2 separate regions of the Homo sapiens genome follow, and region 1 is linked to region 2. Evidence: promoter capture Hi-C in human tissues and cell types (Jung and others, 2019). All regions are on one chromosome and are shown on one strand. Each heading gives the region's core, a stretch centred on a gene start or on the middle of the fragment in contact. The rest is flanking DNA. Distances are from core to core; before and after follow the strand shown. Region 1 overlaps MMP24-AS1-EDEM2 (MMP24-AS1-EDEM2 readthrough). Region 2 holds the start of PROCR (protein C receptor).

Region 1 (3,809 bases), core at 1,310-3,809, 39 kb after region 2:
CACCTTTGTTCACAGTTTGGTGACGCATAGGCTGCTCTGGAGTTGTTTGACCTTTAGGCCCAGAGAGGAAATCTCTGCCTCTGGCTGGTTGTCCAGTTCTCGTCTTGAACCAGAAGGCACTTGGGTGCCACTTGGGTGGGGCGGGCAGAGAACTGGACTGGGGCTGGGGTGGGCACAGGGGAGGCGTTCCCATCCCAGCTCTGTTTGACTCTCTCTGTGTGACCTGTGGCTGAATTACTTCTTTACAGGCATGGTTTTCCCTACCTATAAATCGAGGGTCATACTATATCCGTGGTTTAGTGGTTTATATCCTATTTTGCTTCCCTTTAAAAATAATTTAGCCCCTATACTCTTTATTTAAAGCAGAGATCTTTATTTAAAGTCTATGAATGGCTTTGTTTATTATTATTATTATTTTGAGACAGGGTCTCGCTCTGTCACCCAGGCTGGAGTGCAGTGGTGCAATCTCAGCTCACTGCAGCCCACGCCTCTTGGGTTCAAACGATTCTCGTGCCTCAGTCTCCCAGATAGCCAGAATTACAGGCGTGCACCACCACGCTTGCCTAATTTTTGTATTTTTAGTAGAAATAGGGTTTCACCATGTTGGCCAGGCTGGTCTCGAACTCCTGGCCTCAAGTGATCTGCCTGCCTTGGCCACCCAGAGTGCTGGGATTATAGGCGTGAGCCAAAAGTCTATGAATGGCTTTGAACGGGGCTTACTCTTGTCATTGTGCCACAAGCCCCACCACTTTCTGTGGCTTAAACCCTGCCTGCATCACAATAAGTTACCTGCCTGGGCTTTGAAGGCGTAGTGTAAAATAAATAAAAATAGGTAAAGCTCTCTAGCTAAAGCGAGTGTGTGTGGAGCACAGCCTGCTCCCTGCCCCCTCATGATGAGCAGGAACCCAAGGTTATGCAGAGCAGTGTTTGACAGCATCTGGGCTGGGTGGCTGCTCAGGGCCCTCCAGTTATGACATTTATCTTTCTCTGGCTCAGACTCTAGCAGGATACCCAGGAGAAAGAGGGAAGTGCTGGCTAAGGTCCCAGGCTTTGGGCGTGTATCAGAACTATCCCTATCCCCCTGCTCCTGTCCGGGATCATAATTTGTCGATTGTTCAGCCTTTCAGACCCCCACTGGCATGCCATATGGAACAGTGAACTTACTTCATGGCGTGAACCCAGGAGAGACCCCTGTCACCTGTACGGCAGGGATTGGGACCTTCATTGTTGAATTTGCCACCCTGAGCAGCCTCACTGGTGACCCGGTGTTCGAAGATGTGGCCAGAGTGGCTTTGATGCGCCTCTGGGAGAGCCGGTCAGATATCGGGCTGGTAGGTTCGCTGCTGCCCTTCCTGTTTGAGTCCCTGCTTACGAGGCCCAGGGCTCTGAGCAATAAGTTGCAGTCAAGCCAAGGAAAACTTAGGGTGACCTTGGGAGTGGTCCAGGATTTGGGCTCAGGACACCAAAAATAGACCAAGCCTCCAATTCAAGTTTGGCTTGGAGTGGGGAGGAGAGTGGGAAAGCACGTTTCTGGCAGGCAGCAGGGGCTGCATTCAGCTTTGACCAGTTGAGATTCTCTGATTTCTAGGAAGAGGGTCGTATGTTTCATGCCCCTGACTCACTTGACGGCTTCAGATCATCAGCTCGTCCGGCCTTCATTTTTAGCGTCTATCTGTATTTGCTGTGTTTCTTAGGACACCGGTTCTGAGAGATACTGAGTGGCAGTTGCATGAAAAAATGAGTCTTGGCCAATTAAGTTAGGGGAATATTAGATATAATATCCCCCCCTTTTTTGGAGAGTCAGAATGCACATGAGCAGAATAAAAATCCTCTAGTAAAGAAATCTATTCAACTTTGTTTAATTTAACATTTCCCAAACTTATTTAACACCAGAGCTTCCCTTTATCTTCCAGTACTATTAACCCATGGAAATTGAACACACTTTGGACCAGATGATCTCTAAGGTCAGTTTCAGCTTCTAAATGGGATAATCAATAAGATTAACAGTAATTGAGCCAAAGCCATCCAGGACATAACACTGGATTTAGTCAGAACTGGATTCAAGCCCTGGCCTTGCTACATCGAAACTGTGTGACCCTGAGCAAGTCACTCAACCTCTCTGGTCCTCAGTTACTTCAGCAGTAACGTTAATATATTAATACCAACTTTGCTGAGTCACTCTGACTTAGGAAGACTGCATTTAGGTCTAGGCACATTTTATGCAGTCTGGTGCTAATCCAGCTTGAAAAGTAAAGCTTGTGTGAGGACTCCCCGAAAATCCCTTAAGAAGGTGCCCCCCTAAGGCTGGGTGCGGTGGCTCACGCCTGTAATTCCAGCACTTTGGGAGACTGAGGCGGGCGGATCACCTGAGATTGGGAGTTCGAGACCAGCCTGACCAACATGGAGAAACCCCATCTCTACTAAAAAATACAAAATTAGCCGGGCGTGGTGGTGCATGCCTGTAATCCCAGCTACTTGGGAGGCTGAGGCAGGAGAATTGCCTGAACCTGGGAGGTGGAGGTTGGGATGAGCCGAGATCGCGCCATTGCATTCCAGCCTGGGCAACAAGAGCGAAACTCCATCTCAAAAAAAAAAAAAAGGTGCCCCGCTGGAGACCTGTAGTAAATCCCTTAGTCCATCTCAGGCAGGTTTTGCTCCAGCAGTGGGACCGTAGTAGACTCTGTTGGTGCCATGCCCATATCCTCTCAACTCTTAACATTTCCATGCACACTGGCCAGTCTTCCAACTGCCATCACCTGCGCCTCTTTGCCTGTGGGTCTCCTCTGGTGCCTGGAGCCACTCTGCTTGCCTTTGGCTGAGGGTACCAGGATTTAATGCTACCCATGAGTAGCTCTCAAGCCGGTAACTGATACTGATGGGAGTTGGTGGATAAACATTCCAGTTCCCTGCCCCTTGGGTGGGATCACTCCGAAGCTGGAGCTCTACACTGAATTCCTAAGCTCCCCAGCAAGATTGAACTCCAGTTCCCATGGTGGAAACCTGCCTGATGGCATACCCCTTAAATGCCGCCTCCCTTGCCCTGCCTCACTTCCCCCTCCTCTACTGGTGTTTACAAGGACTTACCTTCCAAATCAACTACTTTCAGGCAGAATGAGGTTGTGCTCCTGGGGGGACACAAACCAACGCGGAACAGTTAGCTATTTCTTTGAGTACCAGATGAAGTTACCAGCTTCCATGAGGGTCTAAGCCATATGAAAAATACATATATTTGGCTGGGCGCAGTGGCTCACGCCTGTAATCCCAGCACTTTGGGAGGCCAAGGCAGGCGTATCACCTGAGGTCGGGAGTTCGAGACCAGCCTGACCAACAGGGAGAAACCATGTCTCTACTAAAAATACAAAAAATAAAATAAATACAATAAAATAGAAAAATACGTATCTTTGTTTATTTTTTTGAGACAGAGTCTCCCCCTGTCGCCCAGGCTGGAGTGCAGTGGCACGATCTCGGCTCACTGCAACCTCCCCCTCTTGGGTTCAAGTGATTCTCATGCCTCTGCCTCCTGAGTAGCTGGGATTATAGGCACACACCACCATGCCTGGCTAATTTTTGTGTTTTTATTAGAGACAGGGTTTTACCATGTTGGCCAAGTTGGTCTCGGACTTCTGACCTCCAGTGATTTTGCCCCCCTCAGCCTCCCAACGTGCTGGGATTATAGGCATGAGCCACCGCGCCTGGCCGGCATTGCCAATTTTTCACAGTCTCTACAGAGACTGAACAATTAAAAAAAAAAAAGTCAAAGGATACAAAAAAGGGTACTCAGTGACATTGGTGAAGTCCCCTTTTGCCCC
Region 2 (3,813 bases), core at 1,030-3,529:
GTTCTCCATCTCCTCTTCCACTGCCCTGATTCAGGATTCATCCGTCTCATCTAGACTGGGGTAGTAACTTTCTACTTCATCTCCCCGTTCTCTATTCCGACCTCCACCTGACCCAGGGATGAGATCATGTCCTTTTCCTACTTAAAATCTTCCAGTGCCATAACCCCCTCCCCTTCATTAATCAAAAATAATCATAGCCAATGTCGATTCAGTGCTTATTATAACCTGGGCAATGGGCTTTACATACATTATTATCTTTGTGCCTTTCCCCAGTGGCTTAATGCAATAGCTACTATTATTAACCCCAGTCTACATGGGAAACTGAGACAGAGATAGTGTAGCAGAGCCAAGGTTTGCACGTAGGCAGTCAAGTCCAGCACTCAGCCATTCTGCTACACTGCCTCCCCACAGGATCAAGTCCAGAGTCTTTAGCCTGGCATTCAAGGCTGCTAGAGACCTGGCCCCTGCTGCCTTTTCTGGCCGCTTCCCGCTGCTTATATATCAAACTAGTTGGGATTCCTCATGCTGCCTTTGGCTGACACATGAATAGCATGTCAGGATTGCTCTGCCTCCCTTTTTCTGCCTGGCGAAGTTTATTCATGATTTAAGACCCAGCTCAGAGACTGGGCGCGGTGGCTCATGCCTGTAATCCCAGTACTTTGGGAGGCCGAGGCGGGCGGATCACTTGAGGTCAGGGATTCAAGACCAGCCTGGCCAACATGGCGAAACCCCATCTGTACTAAAAATACAAATATTAGCCAGGCGTGGTGGTACATGCCTGTAGTCCCAGCTACTCAGGAGGCTGAGGCAGGAGAATCGCCTGAACCTGGGAGTTGGAGGTTACAGTTAGCTGAAATTGTGCCACTGCATTCCAGCCTGGGTGACAGCACAAGACTCCATCTCAAAAAAAAAAAAAAAAAAAAAAAAGAAAAAAGAAAGAAAAGCAAAGAAAAAAAGACCCAGCTCAGTTGCCCTCTTCTTGGAAATTTTTTTCTGATGCCCCACGAGACACAGTGTGTCTGTTTCAGTGATCCCAGACCACCATATATTAGTGTGTATCTCACGGGATACTACCTGGCTGTCTCCAAACACACACAGGCCACACTGGACTCCTCTAGGCTATGGAACCATGCTTGGTAATCTCTGCTTCCTACACCCAGAAAAGAGGCTGGCACAGAGTTGATGCCCAGAGCACATTTGGATGAGTCCGGGGTTGTAAATCTGTGTGTGTGAGTGGGTCCTGTCTGTGTTTGCATTTGAGAAGTTGTGCTTTGTATCTGCAGATGTGAATAAGTATATTTATGGATAACCCTAGACATGGTCCTTAACTACTCTGTGACCCAGTTTCCTCCTCATAAAATGGAGATAGTAATAATATTACCCACCTTTAGGGGTTTGTGCAAGTTAAATGGGTCAATACATGTATTAACCATAGTGAGCACTCATTGAATACTGGTTATTATTTGCTGCCTCTCTGAGGGGGAGACTGAAGTTACGGGGATTGTGAGAGAGGGGAAAGGAGGCCCCTGTGCAATTATAATGGAGGGTAATAACTCCCTTTTCTGCTTAAACAGGGCCACTTCAGTAGCCTGATCGCCCATAAGTTCTATTAGGCACAGCATCTCTTTCTCCCCAGTTCCACCAGCTGCGACCAGTCTCCTTCCATTTTCCCTAGCCTCCCCTAACCTCTCTCTGCCCCACTCTTCCCCCACTTCTTCCATCAGTTTTCCCAGGGTCTTCCCATTCCCTCCATTTCTCTTCTCTTCTGAGCCTCTTCCCGTCTCCCCTAGATGTACCCCTATCTACCATCACCCTCAGTTCCCCTTTCTCCCCTCTCCCTGGGGCTGATTCTCCTACCCTCTCTGCTGGTTTCTTTCTCATGTTTCCAGTCATCCTGTTTCCCCTAGCCTCTTTCATCTCCCCCTTTTCAGGGGCTTAAATGTACTAACTCACCTTGGCTTTGGGACACGAACCAGTCCCCAAGACTCTGCCTGCCCTGTAGAGAGATCTAGCCAGCTGCAGACACAGATGCTGTGAGATAAGCTCTCCTGTGGTCTTGCCATGTGCCCAGATAGACTGAGATTCTCCAGAACCATCCTGAGGCAGGAGATGTGCCCCCGACTCACCATCTGAGGCGTCTTGGCTACAAAAGGCCCAGCCAGACAGCAGCAGTATCGGCAGCAATGTTGTCAACATCCTGAAGTTGAGGCTCCGGACCTGGGTTCCTGGCTCGGGCCGGCTGCGGGCTCCGCTGGCTGCAGTCTAGGGAAAAGAGAAGTGAGGACCGTCTGGGAGGGGCGGAGTCTGGGCAGAGGAGGATGGAAGGAGGCCAGGAGATGGGAGGAGGAAGAGGCTTATAAAGTGTTATTTCTACTGTGTCTCATTTCCTACTAGGGGGCCGGCCTCCCTCCTGCCCTCCCTCTGCCCCGCCCTTCATTGCTCCCTCCTGCCCAGACCTGCCTTTTCCCTTCTCCTTGGGCTGCTTCCTAGGAACCAGGAACAGGGAGCGGAAAAGGGGGAGAAGGGCTTGGTGAGAAGTCCTGCCGGCGCTGACTCAGGGGGTGGGGCATCTACTTTCAACTTAGAGCACACTCCTGGGAGTAGGATCAGCAGGTTGCTGATGGGGAGATTGAGGTCCAGAGAGGTGCAGGGACTTGCCCAAAGTTTATATATCATGGTGGTGACAGATCCAAGATTAAAATTTAGTTTTCCAGTATAATGGCTACATTTTACCAGAATTTTAAGTAAATAACAATTACATAATCCGGGATCTTGGTCTCAGAAGTAGTCATAAAATGAGTGTAAAGCAGTTCACTGCAGCATGTTTTTAAAAAATAGGAGAGAATTATGAGCAATCTGTATAAATCTCAGAAGATGATTGGTTACCTAAAGCAATCTTTTTGAAACTGAGGTCATAATTTATTAGTGGACAATGAAATCAATTTAGCAGGTCATGGTTACCATTTTTAAAAAATGAAATAGGACAGAATACAAAATTTCAGCGCGTCACCCTTAGTAAGAGAAAGTGTTATGTCATGAAATATTTGCTCAGTTGTATATGTGTGCTTTGGTTTTGTGTGTGTATGTTTCTATGATGAGTTTTGGATAGCAGTGTAAAATGCGTCCCTTACTCTAGGAAGCAAGTAGAAAAGCTTTAAAGTCACTCCTCCGAGCATGCTGCTGGCACTTTGGGAGGCCGAGGTGGGCAGATCACTTGAGGCCAGGAGTTTGAGACCAGCCTGGCCAATATGGCGAACGTCTCTACGAAAAATACAAAAATTAGCTGGGCATGGTGGTGCATGCCTGTAATCCCAGCTACTTGGGAGACCGAGGCATGAGAATCGCTTGAACCTGGGAGGTGGAGGTTGCAGAGGGCCGAGATCACACCACTGCATTCTAGCCTGGGTCATGCGGCAAGATTCTGTCTGAAAAAAAAAAAGAAAAGATTTCACTTCTGTTCAAATAATACATATGTAATTTCATCCTCATATATATATATAAAATTTATTATTATTTTTTTGAGACAGGGTCTAGCTCTGTTGCCCAGGCTATAGTGCAGTGAAGCAATCACAGCTAATTGTAGGCTTGACCTCCCGGGCTCAAGTGATTCTCCCACCTCAACCACCCGAGTAGCTGAGACTAAAGGTACGTGCCACTGTGCCACCACGCCTAGCTATTTTTTTTTATTTTTACTAGAGATGTGGTCTCGCTATGTTGCCCAGGCTGGTCTTGAACTCCTGCACTCAAGCAATCCTCTGGTATAGGCAGGAGCCACTGCACCTGGCCAAAATTAACTTTCAGTGTGTATCTGTG

What was found. The method cuts DNA at HindIII sites, captures the fragments that hold promoters and counts their contacts. A contact is called where the count stands out against the background at its distance.
Region 1: a contact is called between a fragment that was not itself captured here and the fragment with the promoter of PROCR in region 2, in 1 of the 25 tissues and cell types used here (aorta).

Annotation. Positions count from the first base shown.
Region 1 is chr20:35,132,260-35,136,068 of GRCh38, reverse strand. It overlaps MMP24-AS1-EDEM2 (MMP24-AS1-EDEM2 readthrough), which reads left to right. Exons shown (of 15, transcript NM_001355008.2): 10 at 1,120-1,331. It overlaps EDEM2 (ER degradation enhancing alpha-mannosidase like protein 2), which reads left to right. Exons shown (of 11, transcript NM_018217.3): 6 at 1,120-1,331. Among named protein-coding and RNA genes, the nearest start is that of EDEM2, 13 kb to the left of the region's middle. RefSeq lists an enhancer at 1,498-2,697. The HindIII fragment of the contact is 9,994 bases long and covers 1-3,809 here.
Region 2 is chr20:35,170,538-35,174,350 of GRCh38, reverse strand. It overlaps PROCR (protein C receptor), which reads right to left and starts at 2,279. Exons shown (of 4, transcript NM_006404.5): 1 at 2,127-2,279. The coding sequence starts at 2,196. All of the region lies in intron 4 of MMP24-AS1-EDEM2 (MMP24-AS1-EDEM2 readthrough), which reads left to right. RefSeq lists an enhancer at 1-166. The HindIII fragment of the contact is 10,554 bases long and covers 1-3,813 here.